Linked DNA regions of Homo sapiens: regions 1, 2, 3 and 4 are each linked to region 5. The links are contacts of gene promoters, found by promoter capture Hi-C in blood cells and fetal thymus (Javierre and others, 2016). All regions are on one chromosome and are shown on one strand. The core of a region is centred on a gene start or on the middle of the fragment in contact, and the rest is flanking DNA. Distances in the headings are between cores, read along the strand shown.

The links. Contacts are between HindIII fragments. The CHiCAGO score rates a contact against its expected background, and 5 or more counts as called.
Region 1: a fragment that was not itself captured here is called in contact with the fragment with the promoter of CRADD-AS1 in region 5 in 1 of 17 cell types (fetal thymus); the score reaches 5.6 in fetal thymus.
Region 2: a contact is called between a fragment that was not itself captured here and the fragment with the promoter of CRADD-AS1 in region 5, in 1 of 17 cell types (activated CD4 T cells). The highest score is 5.6, in activated CD4 T cells.
Region 3: a fragment that was not itself captured here is called in contact with the fragment with the promoter of CRADD-AS1 in region 5 in 7 of 17 cell types (fetal thymus, M0 macrophages, activated CD4 T cells and 4 more); the score reaches 7.9 in fetal thymus.
Region 4: a contact is called between a fragment that was not itself captured here and the fragment with the promoter of CRADD-AS1 in region 5, in 14 of 17 cell types (megakaryocytes, activated CD4 T cells, erythroblasts and 11 more). The highest score is 12.5, in megakaryocytes.

Annotation. Positions count from the first base shown.
Region 1 is chr12:94,045,723-94,048,422 of GRCh38, forward strand. LOC105369913 (a long non-coding RNA gene) reads left to right here. Exons shown (of 4, transcript XR_945223.3): 3 at 1,225-1,356; 4 at 2,120-2,316. Among named protein-coding and RNA genes, the nearest start is that of PLXNC1, 100 kb to the right of the region's middle. The HindIII fragment of the contact is 3,707 bases long and covers 1-2,700 here.
Region 2 is chr12:94,121,185-94,123,884 of GRCh38, forward strand. The region is part of intron 1 of LOC124902986 (a long non-coding RNA gene); the gene reads left to right. Among named protein-coding and RNA genes, the nearest start is that of PLXNC1, 26 kb to the right of the region's middle. The HindIII fragment of the contact is 544 bases long and covers 1,030-1,573 here.
Region 3 is chr12:94,081,458-94,084,157 of GRCh38, forward strand. No RefSeq gene overlaps it. Among named protein-coding and RNA genes, the nearest start is that of PLXNC1, 66 kb to the right of the region's middle. The HindIII fragment of the contact is 2,681 bases long and covers 1-2,611 here.
Region 4 is chr12:94,101,337-94,104,036 of GRCh38, forward strand. LOC124902986 (a long non-coding RNA gene) reads left to right here and starts at 277. Exons shown (of 2, transcript XR_007063409.1): 1 at 277-2,280. RefSeq lists enhancers at 1-263, 320-379, 830-999. The HindIII fragment of the contact is 2,851 bases long and covers 1-2,697 here.
Region 5 is chr12:93,736,562-93,739,261 of GRCh38, forward strand. CRADD-AS1 (CRADD antisense RNA 1) reads right to left here and starts at 1,262. Exons shown (of 3, transcript NR_110092.1): 1 at 1,138-1,262. The region is part of intron 2 of CRADD (CARD and death domain containing adaptor protein); the gene reads left to right. The HindIII fragment of the contact is 4,271 bases long and covers 689-2,700 here.

The DNA of each region.
Region 1 (2,700 bases), core at 133-2,632, 310 kb after region 5:
AGATATGAAAATAAGGCCAAAAGGGTTTTTTTCCCCTTAAGATTATAAAGTAAATTAGTAGCTGAGTTAAAAAAAAAGAAAGAAAGAAAGAAAAAAGAACATTGGCATTGGAAACTGAAGACTCCACTTTACAAGTCAAACCGCCCTTGAAAAGCCAGTTAATATATCTAGCCTCAGTTTTCTCATTTGTAAAATATCGATAAGGCAGCCTACTTCACAAAACAATTTTGAGGCCTGCATGAAATCAGGTAGGCAAGAGGCCAGCACAGTGCCCAGTCCACAGTAAGCGCTCAGGAAAGGACAGCTTCACTTGAATCCCAGGCTAGTGTTCTTCATTTCCACCATGTTCTCACAGTGAGTGAACCCCTTCACAACATGATACATTACTCTCAACAGATCACTTTTGCACGGGCATGTTTTTGCACTCAGTTTCCTTTATTTTTTTCCTTTTTTTTTTTGAGATGGAGTCTCCCTCTGTCGCCCAGGCTGGAGTGCAGTGGCACGATCTCGGCTCACTACAAGCTCTGCCTCCCGGGTTCACGCCATTCTCCTGCCACAGTCTGCTGAGTAGCTGGTACTACAGGTGCCCACCACCACGCCCGGCTAATTTTTTGCATTTTTTAGTAGAGACGGGGTTTCACCATGTTAGCCAGGATGGTCTTGATCTCCTGACCTCATGATCTGCCCACCTCGGCCTCCCAAAGTGCTGGGATTACAGGCGTGAGCCACGGCACCTGGCCTGCACTCAGTTTCTTATGGCAGGACTACGGGAGACTCATCAAACAATACATGAGTAGAGTCCTGTCTCAGTTCGTTTCTGCTGCTATAACACAATATCCAAGACTGGGTAATTTGCAAAGAACAGAGATTTATTTTCTCACAGTCCTGGAGGCTGGGAAATCCAAGATCAAGGCACCAACACATTCAGTGTCTGCTAAGGGCTACTCTCTGCTTTCAGATGGTGCCTTATTGCTATGTCCTCGTATGGCAGAAGGCAGGACAAAAGGGATCTAGTTAGTTCCCTTGAGCTCTTTTATAAGAGTACTCATCCCATTCGTAACAGGCAGAGCCTTCATGACTTACTCATCTCCTAAAGGCCCCACCTCTTAATGTTATCACATTGGCAGTTAAGTTTCAACATATGAATTTGTTGGGGGGAGGGGAGAGGGAACACATTCAGACCACGGCAGGTCCTAACAACTTATTTGTGAATTCCTGGTTCAGAGCTCAGTGTGCAGCCCACTGTATCAAGTCCTAGACCAGCCAACGAAAGCTGCGTTGAACCTATCCTGCAGCAGAAACACTGGTGAAGAAGCCTGGAGAAACAGAGGCCTGCAGTACCCAGTAACTAACCAGGTAGAAAAGCAGCCATCTGGTGTGTCAGGACTGGGGTGAGTGGGGTGACAGAGAGTTGTGAAGGGAAAGTGGAAGTGGAGGCAGGTGACTACACCTTCAGCTGACCTGAAGTCAGCTGACGTGACTTCAGCTGATGTGATGAAATCCAGCTGGTTTCCCAGGCTGGGATGCCTTTTGCTTTCCACAATAGGAATGGCCAGTAGCTGCCAGCCCGTGGTGGAAAGAAGCAACTGGAGATTGCAAACTCTCCTCTGCTCTCTCAACAGGCAATAGGATATTGGGGTTGCCACTGCAGGTTCTAGGGTCACAAAAACACAGGTTCAAATTCTACCTCTGCCCCTTACCAACTGTGCTACATTGAACATATAACCTGAATTTCTCCCTGCCTTGGTTTCCTCCTCTATGAAATGGGAATAACAACATAGCACTGAGTTATCGAGGTTCAAAAGAAATAATACCTGGGAGGCTCCCTGCATAGTTTTTGGCATAAACCTGGCTTCAATGAGATTAGCAATTGATATCAATTTACACAGTTCTAAATAGAGAAATTTTTCAAAGTAAAAGACTGAGAGATAGGGATACACAAAGGCACACAAAGACAGGTAATTTTGCTTTCTCTGCTTGCCTTTTTGCACTTTGCAAGCAAGAAGGCAGGCAAGATTCGGCTTGTGCTCAGCTTTTATGGCCGCCTCATTTCAAAACAACCTCAGGCTACAGAGATGGAACCTGCAGCTTTCTCAGAAACCAAACTTTTCTGTTTCAGGCTGCACGAATGGAGCATGAGAACACCCTACAGCCTGTTATTTGCTGCATGTTTCTACGGGCACCAGCAAAGCACAACTTCTAGTAATGGGATCAGTAACCCAAGTGACGGAACTGAAAAGGCAAGTCTGAATTTATCTCCATCTGTCATGTTCCAGTGAACAATGAAAGCACAGTAAAGGGAAACGCTGCTTCTTGCATGTTTGTGCCAGTCCTTCCCTGCTAGGTACTATTATTAGCAGCATTAATAAATGCCTCTGACTTGCAGTAAAGGTTCAGAATGCTGGAGAGTTACAGGGCATGCCAAACACATAAACTGCCTGCCCTCAGGGCTGATGGGCACGAAGGCTATAAGATGAAGCCCAAATGGCAGAAACATTCTGACCAGGGAGGAGTGATTGCAGGTGAGGTAGGGAGATTTTTTTTCCAGGGCTGTGCTGGAAATGAAAGAGACAAGCCTTCGCGCCCACTATTTGGCTGCTCATCCTATTCTATTCTTGGGAAATCATTGGAGAGATGAGAGAAGACAAGTGACAGTCCACTTTGAATGTCACCTCTACCATCCTGGAGCCTTGGGAGAAA
Region 2 (2,700 bases), core at 52-2,551, 380 kb after region 5:
CTCTTGAGTAGCTGGGACTACAGGCGTGGACCACCATGCCCACCCTTTTTTTTTTTTTTTTTTTCCTTGGTGGAGACAGGGTTTCATCATCTTGCCCAGGCTGGTGTCGAACTCCTGGGCTCAAGTGATCCTCCTGCCTCAGCCTCCCAAAGTGCTGGTCTCATAGGCATGAGCCACCACGCCTAGCCCTCATGGCACTTTAAAGAAAATACACATTCCAGGCTGGGTGCGGTGGCTCACGCCTGTAATCCCAGCACTTTGGGAGGCCCAGGCAGGTGATCACTTGAGGTTAGGAGTTACAGACCAGCCTGGCCAACATGGTGAAACCCCGTCTCTACTAAAAATACAAAAACTAGCCAGTTGTGGTGGTGGGCACCTGTAATCTCAGCTACTTGGGAGGCTAAGGTAGGAGAATTGCTTGAACCTGGGAAGTGGAGGTTGCAATGAATCAAGATCACGCCACTGCACTCCAGCCTGGGCGACAAGAGTGAGACTCCATCTCAAAAAAAAAAAGAAAGAAAGAAAAATACACATTCCAGGTTCTATCTCTTGAGGAGCTGGGATTGAGCCTGGGCATCCACATTTTTCAAAGTTCCCCCACATGATCTCAGTGCTAAAAACTGAGACTCATGGAATGTTGGACCAAAGAATCAAGAGACCCATATTCTGGTTCCTGACTTTCCTACACACTGGCCTCTCTGAGCCTGTTTCCCATTCTGTAAAATGGAGAGATAGGAGCCCTGTCCTACTTTTGTGAGTTTAAAGCATAAGAACTTGTGTGAAAGAATTTTGACAAGGAACTTTTGTATTTATGGTGGGAGGGATCTGGTGACCAGCAGTCAGACACCACCTGCAAACAGGCCTGCGATCTGGTCACTTGGTGACATTTCCACTGGGTTCTCGTGGTCTGCTTGCCTCCATCACACTATGCTAAAAATGGGTAGAGAGTGGGTGGAGCTCAGAATACTTTAACTCCAGTGTAATAGTGTGGGCAGCTTCCACTTAGTTAGGTACTTCTGGACAAATGGAAGCTTGTCTGCATGCAGCTATATTTATTTCCAAAATAACTGGTGAGATACCCCCACGAATTTGAGAACATTCATTTCTGTTTTACCTGTTTTGAGACCTTTAGACCATGAGATTAGAACGCCCCAGGCATGATCAGGAGGCAGAAGTACACAGGTCGTCTATTCCCAACCTCAGAGCTGATGCTCAGGGTAAATCCACAGCCATTCGATGTAGGGACGTTTTAATTTGGGAAATCAAATGCAGGAAAGATATTACCTTACTGTTCATTTCAAGCATCTCACACACACCATTAAATGCCCCAAACTAGGCTACTATTGAACCTTAACCACATACAAATTACGTATTTACCCAAATACTCTAACATGCTAACAATCCTTTCTTTTGAAACTTCCTGGTTTAACCGATCTGACAAACAGATCCTTCATTTCTGTTCGCTCTATTTTATTCATTCAGTGTATCACAAGTTGACCATAGCAAGACGAGAAATGCATTAAGGATCATGATTTTGCAAAGCATTAATAAGGATACTGGGACAAGGAAGTTAAGCTTTTGATGGCCTTGATACAACTATTTCAAACTTCTCTATTTCAAACTGACTTCTGCACAAGGGCACCACATCTAAAGGACCATCATTGATAGTAAACACAGTTAGTTTGTATATTTATTATGATAGTTTTCTGGCAGATGATAGTCATGTGTCTTATTCTAATAAATCAGCCCATGACAACAATTTTCCAACAGAAGTAAGCCAAGTGTCTTGAAGAAGGGGTGGGAGTGTGCCTTTTGTAATTCACACACAGGGGCAGTTTGGGCTACATGCAACCCAGAAAGGATTGTTAGCATGTTGGGGTATTTGGGTAAATATGTCATTTGTATGTGGTTAAGGTTCAATAGTAGCCTGGTTTGGGGCATTTAATGGTGTGTGTGAGATGCTTGAAATGAACAGTAAGGTAATATCTTTCCTGCATTTGATTTCCCAAATTAAAATGTCCCTACATCAAATGGCTGTGGATTTACCCTGTCCACTGATCTCTTCCCTGGTCATCCCTGATCTGGGGACAAGTCTTCTGTCAAAAAGGGGCTGAGTGAGCAGCAGCTGGGCTTTCCCTCTCCGCCCTCTCCAGAGCAGGCTCCTTGTGGTCTGCCAGCCACAACATAAAAGTGGAAGTAGTAGTCTGGCTTCTTCTTGGTCAGTTTAAGGTGAGGAGTTTTGTGGGGTTTTTTTGTTTTTTGTTTTTTGTTTTTTGTTTTTTTTGAGTTTTTTTTTTTTTTTTGGAGGTGGAGTCTCACTCTGTCGCCCAGGCTGGAGTGCAGTGGCGCGATCTCGGCTCACTGCATCCTCCACCTCCCGGGTTCAAGCGATTCTCATGCCTCAGCCTCAGGAGTAGCTGGGATTACAGACACCTACCTCCACACCTGGCTAATTTTTATATTTTTAGTAGAGATGTGATTTCACCATGTTGGCCAGGCTGGTCTCGAACTTCTGACCTCAAGTGATCCACCCGCCTCGGCCTCCCAAAGTGCTGGGATTACAGGCATGAGCCACCACGCCCAGCCAGAGCTATTTTTTTTTCTACATTACACTTTGAAAACAAAAAACTTCCCCTCCCCTTTCTCTCTGTCTTCCTTCCCTGAGCTCTGTTTGTGTTGTCCCTACTAATCCCAGGACAT
Region 3 (2,700 bases), core at 21-2,520, 340 kb after region 5:
TCCTGAAGATGGGCTGAAACTCTTACTTATAGAAAAGGAGCTGACGTTCAGAGAGGCAAGCAGCCTGCCAAAGCTCCTACAGCTGTAAAATGGCAGAGACAAGATGGGAACCCAGGTCTTCTTAGTTCTTTGCCAGTTATGTTAATGCTAATTTTTAAGAGGCCACTCTTAGCCCCATGTCTTCCTCACATTCAGATTTCTGTTTCTAAGCAGAGGATTAAGATGCACACTGCTCATGTTTCCACTGAGAAACAAACTGTGACAAGGCAAATCAGATGGCACTTGGTCAAATACATGGCTGGTTAGGGGACACAGGTATTAATTATTCTTTTGGGCTTGGACATCAAGTCTATACTTACAGCTAATTTACTTGTCTGTCTTCCCTCTAGACAGCAACTCTAGAAGAAAAAGAACTATGTCTACTTGCTTGCTATTGTCTCTTTGTTGCTTACTTACTGCCTGGGACAGAATAGCAATTAAACAGCAGTTACTAAGCATGTCGATGGAAGGATAGCTAACCCCATCGGTAAGGAGTACTAACCATACACACTGCCTCTGGAATCACTTTCTGATATCTTCCCTTTTGCTTTTCTGGTAGTTTTCCAACTACTCTTTCACATTGCCTTTTCTACTTCTATATTTTGGGCCTTATAATTTCAACCATATCCTATAATTACAAGATCATTTGAACCAACACCAAACGTCCCAATCATTTTCCTTTCCACTACATAACAAGACTCAGACAGCCTACCATTTCTCTTAAGATAATATTTACATCTTTGGTCTGCGTCCAGTACCCAGGTCCATGTGCCTGTGGATGTGTCAGTGCAAATAGCTCTTGCCTTGTCCCTTCTCATTAACATGAATGGCAAAAAGGATTTGAGAGAAGGAATATTGGGTATTCCAGGAAATCTAAGCTCTAAATCTAAGTTCTGCTTGCAGGTCTTTATGTAATGGAAACCTGTTTCGCTTTGAGTTTCTTAGCCACAAAATGGGAATAATATCATGTGTTTTTAGGACATCTCAAAAACTGTTTTTTATACATGAGCAAACAAGGAACGTTAAAATGTTTGTACATTTCATTAAGCTGTTTATTAGTATTTGTAAATATCGCATTCAAAGGCTTGAGGCAAAAGTTACAAACTGGTAACTTGAGGGACCACAATGAGTCAATAGAAGTGTTTTGTTTCTCCAGTGATGTTATTTTTAGAATTTAATCCAGTTACTAAGATGTTTCACATTGGGAGACTTCACATTAAAATTTTGGCTTCCCTTTAAAAATCTCAGGATTAGGCATCCTAAGCCCACTGATATGGTTTGGCTCTGTGTCACTACCCAAATCTCATCTCAAACTGGAATCCCCATGTGTTGAGGGAGGGAGGTGCTTGGATGAAGGGGGCGGCTTCCGCCATGCTGTTCTCATGGTAGTGAGTGAGTTCTCGTGAGATCTGATGGTTTTTAAAGTGGCAGTTTTTTCCTGCACTTGCACTTCTCCCTCCTGCCGCCATGTGAAGAAGCTGCCTGCTTCCCCTTCACTTTCTGCCATGATTGTAAGTTTCCTGAGGCCTCCCCTGCCATGTGGAACTGTGAGTCAATGAAACGTTTTTCTTTTATAAATTACCAGTCTCAGGAATTTCTTTATAGGAGTGTGAAAATGGGCTAATACACCCCCACTGCTGTTTGGCAGGAACTGACCAAAGCTGAGCAATGATCACTTCCAAGTAAAGCCATAAGAGCATTCGAGTTTGCCACAGTCTCCACCACTCCCTATTTTATCACATGTAATCTGATATAGTTTAGATGTCCCGTCCAAATCTCATGTTGGAGGTGGGGCCCACGTTGGAGGTGGGGCCTGGTGGTAGGTGTTTGAGTGTTTGGGTCATGGGGGCACATCCCTCATGGCTTGGTGCTGTCCTCACAATAGTGAGTTCTTGTGAGATCTGGTTATGCAAGTGTGTGGCACCTCCCTATCACTCCCTCTTTTGCTCTTGCTATGTGATGTGTCTGCTCCCACTTTGCCCTCTGCCATGATTGAAAGCCACCTGAGGCCACCCCAGAAGCTGTGCAGATGCCAGCACCATACTTCCTGTACAGTCTGCAGAACCATAAGTCAATTAAACCTCTTTTCTTTATCAATTACCCAATCTCAGGTATTTCTTTATATCGATGCCAAAACAGCCCAACACATAATCTTTGCCATAGTCCCTACTACTTCCTGTTTTATTACAGCCAGTCTGCTGGACTCACTTAAGTTACTGTCTGGTTCCCAGAGGCATTTGAATTTGACTACCCCTGTTTTAAAGAAGTATTACAGAGCATATAGTTGATTTATCAGTCTGCAGCTATCAGATTGATCCTGTTCACAAATAGTTCTAAAGAAGAAAATCCATAGTATTTTGCAAGCCATTCAAACACTAAACCTTTCTCTTCTATCCAGAAAATTTTCCCCTCACTATAAATAGGCCAATAAGAGCAATGTAGGCTTAGAACTAAATGGCATCTTATAGCTCATCTGGTCCAACCACCTTATATAACATTTGAGAAAACTACAGGCCTAGATTGTGAAGATGCCCAATAGCTAACAGGGACGAGAACCAGCTTCCCACTGGAAAGCTTCCTGGAACTTCTCATTCTTTCCAAATTAGGCATAGAAAATAGCTGCTTATTTTACTTTGTGAAAGCATTTTAGGCTTGGACTCA
Region 4 (2,700 bases), core at 22-2,521, 360 kb after region 5:
AAGTTTCAATATTCACTTAGGAAAATAAAAATGAGCAGTAAGTCAGCTAGGAGCAAAAGGAACGGGACATTCAAAGGCTGTGCCCAATGTCAGACAGAAGTAGCTTTGTAATTCTCCCAGTGTAGGGCTGCAGGCACCTGGCGCTGGAGACCCGGCCTGGACGAGGCAGGGCTCAGGGCGCGGCTGGAGGGGCTCGCCCGGCGGGGCGCTGGAGCGGGAGAAGGGCGCCCTCTGCCGGGGGTGAGGAAGATCAGTCCGCACGCGCGGTGCCTTGGTCTTGCAGCCTGTTCGAACCTCGCGCGAGGACATCCACTTCTTCCACGGGGAAAGTAGGAGGGTGGGGGCAGAAAAACCAAACTCCTGCCAAGAAGGTGCTTTGCACGAGCATTTTGCGACCCCATCCCTTCAGCCCCGAACCTCCCCCTGGCATAAGTGAAAGGACTGTAGTCAATTGCAGATGCTGTCAGGAAGCCAGGTGCGTCCTCACTCCCCAGCCCTAAAATCCAAAGAAAGAAGAGATTGTTTGAGACGATCTGAAGAAAGGTCAGGTCCTAACAGATCCACGGGACCTTCTTTTTCACCTTCCTTGTCTTGGGTTCTGGAGCACGGGCGCTGAATCAGCTGAATGCGGCCTGGGCATCTGGAAGTGGTCCTGAGGGACACCTCGCGGTGCAGCCCCCGGGACGACCCAGGACACCCTGGACACCCTGGACACCCAGGCCGAGAGCCGGGACCCGCCCACGCCTCCTCACTGCTGCTCGAGGGTAGGCAGGAGCACGCGGACCCCGTGGGGGCTGAAGCGGGGCTCTGCTGCCCGCCCTGCGCAAGCTCCCGGCTCTGGTTGCTGGTCCACAAAATCGGGAGGCTGAATTAGCCGGTCGGGTGGCCCCCAGCCTTATAGCTTCGAATTCTGTGATCCTATTTTAGACCCAGACTTGTCCGCGAAGGGAAATGAAGAGGCGCGGAAGGCTTGGAGCGTGAACCAAAAAACAATGGGTGGGGATCGTCTAACCAGCTCCCTTCCCTAGAAGGGCGGAAACGGCTTTCGAAGCATCCGCGATTCTCTTTATTGAATCTTGAGTGACACCTAGTGGCCCATCCGCCTCACCGTCACGGCGATGCTGGTTTCACTGGGCTTTTCAGAAGGCGTGCTGGCCTGCCCATGGTTCTCGGCTAAAAGACTTTGGAGCGTAGGGTGCCGATGAAGTTTCCTGGGACCTTCCGGAAGCACTTGCTGTCCCGTCAACAGCCCTGTACCTGCGATGCATGCAATTCTAATGAAAATGCCCTTCTCGTCTGGAGGGCTTGCTTGAGCACATCCTGAGCTCTCAGGCAGCAAATATAGAGTCGGGTGCTATTCCGGGAGCTGGGCACACAAAGATGACCAACGCTTGGTTTCTGATCTCAAGAATCTCACAGCCCAGCTGGGGGGAAATGGACCAGTAGAAGAGTGTGTATTTGATGCTGTGGGGTAGAGGGGGTGGACCTAGCTCGGCCTAGAGACATCAAGAAAGTCACCCTTGAGCTGAGTTTTGAAGATTAGGCAGAATTCTAAGATGACCCCTGAAGATTCTCAGCCCATCCCCCTCGCAGTGTACACACACCTTTGCCCAGTTATTCAATCAAACAATTTAGGTGCTTCTGTGAAGAGAATTTGCAGATGTAATTAAAGTTCCCAAATTAATTGATCTTAAGATCTGGAGATGATCCTGGGTAGGCCTAACCTAGCCAGGTGAACCTTTGAAAGGGACTGGATTGTCCTGGCAGAAGAGATTTGACAAGCGGCAAGAACTCATCATTGGCAAGATTTTCTTTGCTGGCTTTACAGATGAAAGGGGCCACGTGGCAAGGAATGCAGGCTGACTCTAGGAGCTCAGAACGACCCCTGCCTGACAGCCAGCAGAGAAACCAGCCTTCAATCCTACCACTGCAAGAGCACTGAACTCTGCCAATAAGCAGGGAGTTTGGAAGGGATCCCCAAGCTGTATGAGACTTAGTCCCAGCTGACACCTTGATTTTATCTCTGTAGGACCCTGAAGAGAGGACCCAGTCATGCTGCATTCAGGCTTCTGACCTCCAGAACTATGAACTAATAAATGGGTGTTTTAAGCTGTTATGTTTGCAATGTGTTATGAAGTCATAGGAAACTGATACAGATGGTCATTTCAAAGAGGGGAACCACATGACAAATGCTCAGAGCCATAAAGAAGCAGAGAACTAAAGTCATTCAGAGAACTAAAGACATTCGGCATAGCTGGACCATGGGGAGCAAAGGAGACGGTAAGATGTACTCACGAGAACTTGGCTTTGGATCAGAGAGAATGTGCCCTTGGGCTAGTTAACTTAGCTCTCTGTGCCTCAGTTTTCCCAAAGGTAAAATGGAATCATAATTATAGTTAAAACATAGAGTTGTTATGTTAGTGGCCCATAGGCATATAGAAAGTTCAACACAGCCTTGGGATATAATAAGTGTTCCAAAAATGTTAGGTAGTAATAGCTTTAGTAATTAATCATGTAGTTAATGGACTGGAATAAGAAGAGGACAAGTCATGTGGTTTTTACAGAGTGGTCTGGGGACCATCTGCACTGGATGATTCCAGCGGTGAGCTTATTAAAAACCCACATGCCTGGATTGTACCTTGGTCTTACCAAATCAGACTCTCTGGGGGTAGAGCCTGAGAATCTGCACTTTCAAGAAGC
Region 5 (2,700 bases), core at 12-2,511:
ATATAGGGTATGATAAATGTTGGTAAATCCACTGAGTTCCTTGAGTTCCACATTGATGTCTTTTAGGATGTGACTAGGGGTAGGCTAAATATTTTCTAGTTTCTCAGATCCTACCCCTGGTCTAATTATGATATAGAGGCCAGATTAGTGTCACCAGTTTTTCTTTCTCTTCTGAATGTAGAGCAAGAGCAAATGATTGCAGATAACAGCATGAGAAACTTAGGATCAACCACCAGCATCTAAGTGAGTCTTGTACTAGGCTCATTCCAGTTAAAAGCTGTAAATCATTTCATAGCCACATCAGTTTAGTTCTCTTTTATAGAACTCATTATGTGATACAAAATATGCAAGGCACTGGAGATACAAATACAATTATTTCCTCAAGGAACTTTGAGTTGAGCAAACATGGTACTGTCTGGTGAGACCAGACATATGAGCAAACATAGTACTTCTCTGGTGAGACCACATAGAGAAATGTACAAGGGGTAGAGGAGGCAGTGATGACTACTGGTCTGGGATAGTTGAGGGAAGGTGGCATAGGCTGCCTATTGAAGAATAAATTAGAGTTTGCTATGTGAACAAGGTTGCAGAGGGAATAGTATATGGAAAAACAGGGAGATGTGGACCCATATATTTTGTGCAGAGATGTCCAAGTACTTAGATATTACTATATTGCAAGTATGAAGAAAGCTTTTTTTGAGATCTGACAATGCCAAGGTAGGTTATGGACTCTCTTTGGAGTCCCCAAAATAAAAATAAAACATTCACATCTGCTAAAGATAGCTTGAATGGTATTTTTGCTAAAGGCAGAGTCATATACTGTATGTGCCAGATAAAAGTCAATGTCTATTATGTAAACATTGAGATTACATTAATTAATTTAAAAGAAAGGATTCAAACTTAGTACTAATCTGCATCTGGAGAACTAATCTGGTATGTGTTATTTTCAAGTCACCCAACTAAAGCAGTCTGTTGTATGGAACTCTGCTCCCTCTTAGTCAAACAAATGCAACCATAAAAAGCAGTGCAAATTCAGTGTCACCTTTTCTCCATGGGATTGGGTGGTTTCTTTTGGAGCAGAGAGAGTTTCCAGAGAATCAATATAGTAGCCAGAAGAAAAGTGGAGGGTGGCCTTACCTTGTCCACTCCGTGCTGCCTGAGGGTGAAATGGAACCTCGGATGTTGTACACCTTTAAATTGTCCATGTTGCCTGTTTCATAGCCTTCCCGGGCCAGGGAGCTGTGTAGTCAGTTTATAGTTCTAAGAACCAGAGCAGGACTGCTGTGCTTGTAATTGCATGCTTTTTATGGAACAGGCAATGTTGTTTAGGGAATTTGGGCAGCTGGAACCTGCCACATTAGCAATTTGGACTGAGGAAGAATTTCAGGGTGATAAAATAAAGCTCATTATATAAATTCACTTGGGTATTTAGGAGGCTGAGAAGGGAGAGGATGAGAGTATTCCAAAGGCAAGCAGGAGAGTTTCATAAACAGGTCCCTTTCTATTCGTTTTTACTGTAAGTGTTGAATTGAGCTAGGAGGATCACATGGCCCATTTTGCAAAGGGCAGTCATGTTCTGCTGTTTCTTAGCTGTTTTGTCAGTTGGAACAAAACAACAGCGCTGCTCATTTTTTGCAGGGTTAGAGGAAAAAGGAAGGACTGGCCGAAGAATGGGGTGGGGAGCTGGAGAAGAGAAGGGCCAAAAGTGTCAGACTGTGGGGATGAGGACCTGAAGGAGGCCCATGAGACCTCAGGCATGGGCCCTGGAACTCTGCCTTTTTGAAGCCTGTTGACAATCTCACCCTAATTTAACCCTTTGTGGAATTCTTCCATGAGATGCAGTTGCCATCATCAGGCTTCCTAGAGAATTGAGCCTGCCCACTCTGTTATGAAGTCTACCCAGAAGAGCTGGCAGAGTAGGCCCCTTCACTGGGACTGCAGCAACACTGACCAAAGCAAATCCTTCTCTTGGAAGAAACAAACTCATTCCTCACACCTGCCTCACCCCGCTCCCACCGCCACCCCCTGCACCACACGCCAGCCCTTAATAAAAACTAAAACTGATGTCATTGTAACCTTTGGTTATTCTTTTTTGTGCGTAAAGTGTCAACCTCCTGTTTTATTCTCATAAATAATGGAAATCTTAACTTCATTTCAGAAAATCACAAAAGATAACAGGGACCCTATTCAAACAGAATAAAAATAATTAGTAAGTCACAAACTCTGACTAGAAAGAAAAAGAGAAGAGAGAGAGGGAAGGAGAAAGAAAGAAGGAAAGAGAGGGAGAGAGAGAAACGAGGAAAGGAAGGAAGGAAGAAAGTGAAAGAAGAAAGTCCTCTTGTTGGTGTTAAAATGTGTCTTTAAGGGGAAACTTATCATTTAGGTTACTAATGGTTTCTTTCTTCATCATTTTAATTTCCATTAATAAAATGTGACTTTGAAAGGATGCAGGGAGTTTGGGAATAGAGAGTTTTATTTTTATTTGTTTATTTTTTTTCCCCTTCTCCCAGCAAAATACACAGGTATCTGACTATGTAGAGACACGAAGCCACCTATCCTGACCAAACTTGGCAGTGGTCAGGGGATAGGAGGAAGTGTAGTGCCATGGGATGGGCACCAGCCCTGATGAACTCGACTTTCTTTCCATTTCTCTCCTGCATCCAAATGTTGAGGAGACTTTGAGTAGTAGTGTAGCCTCTT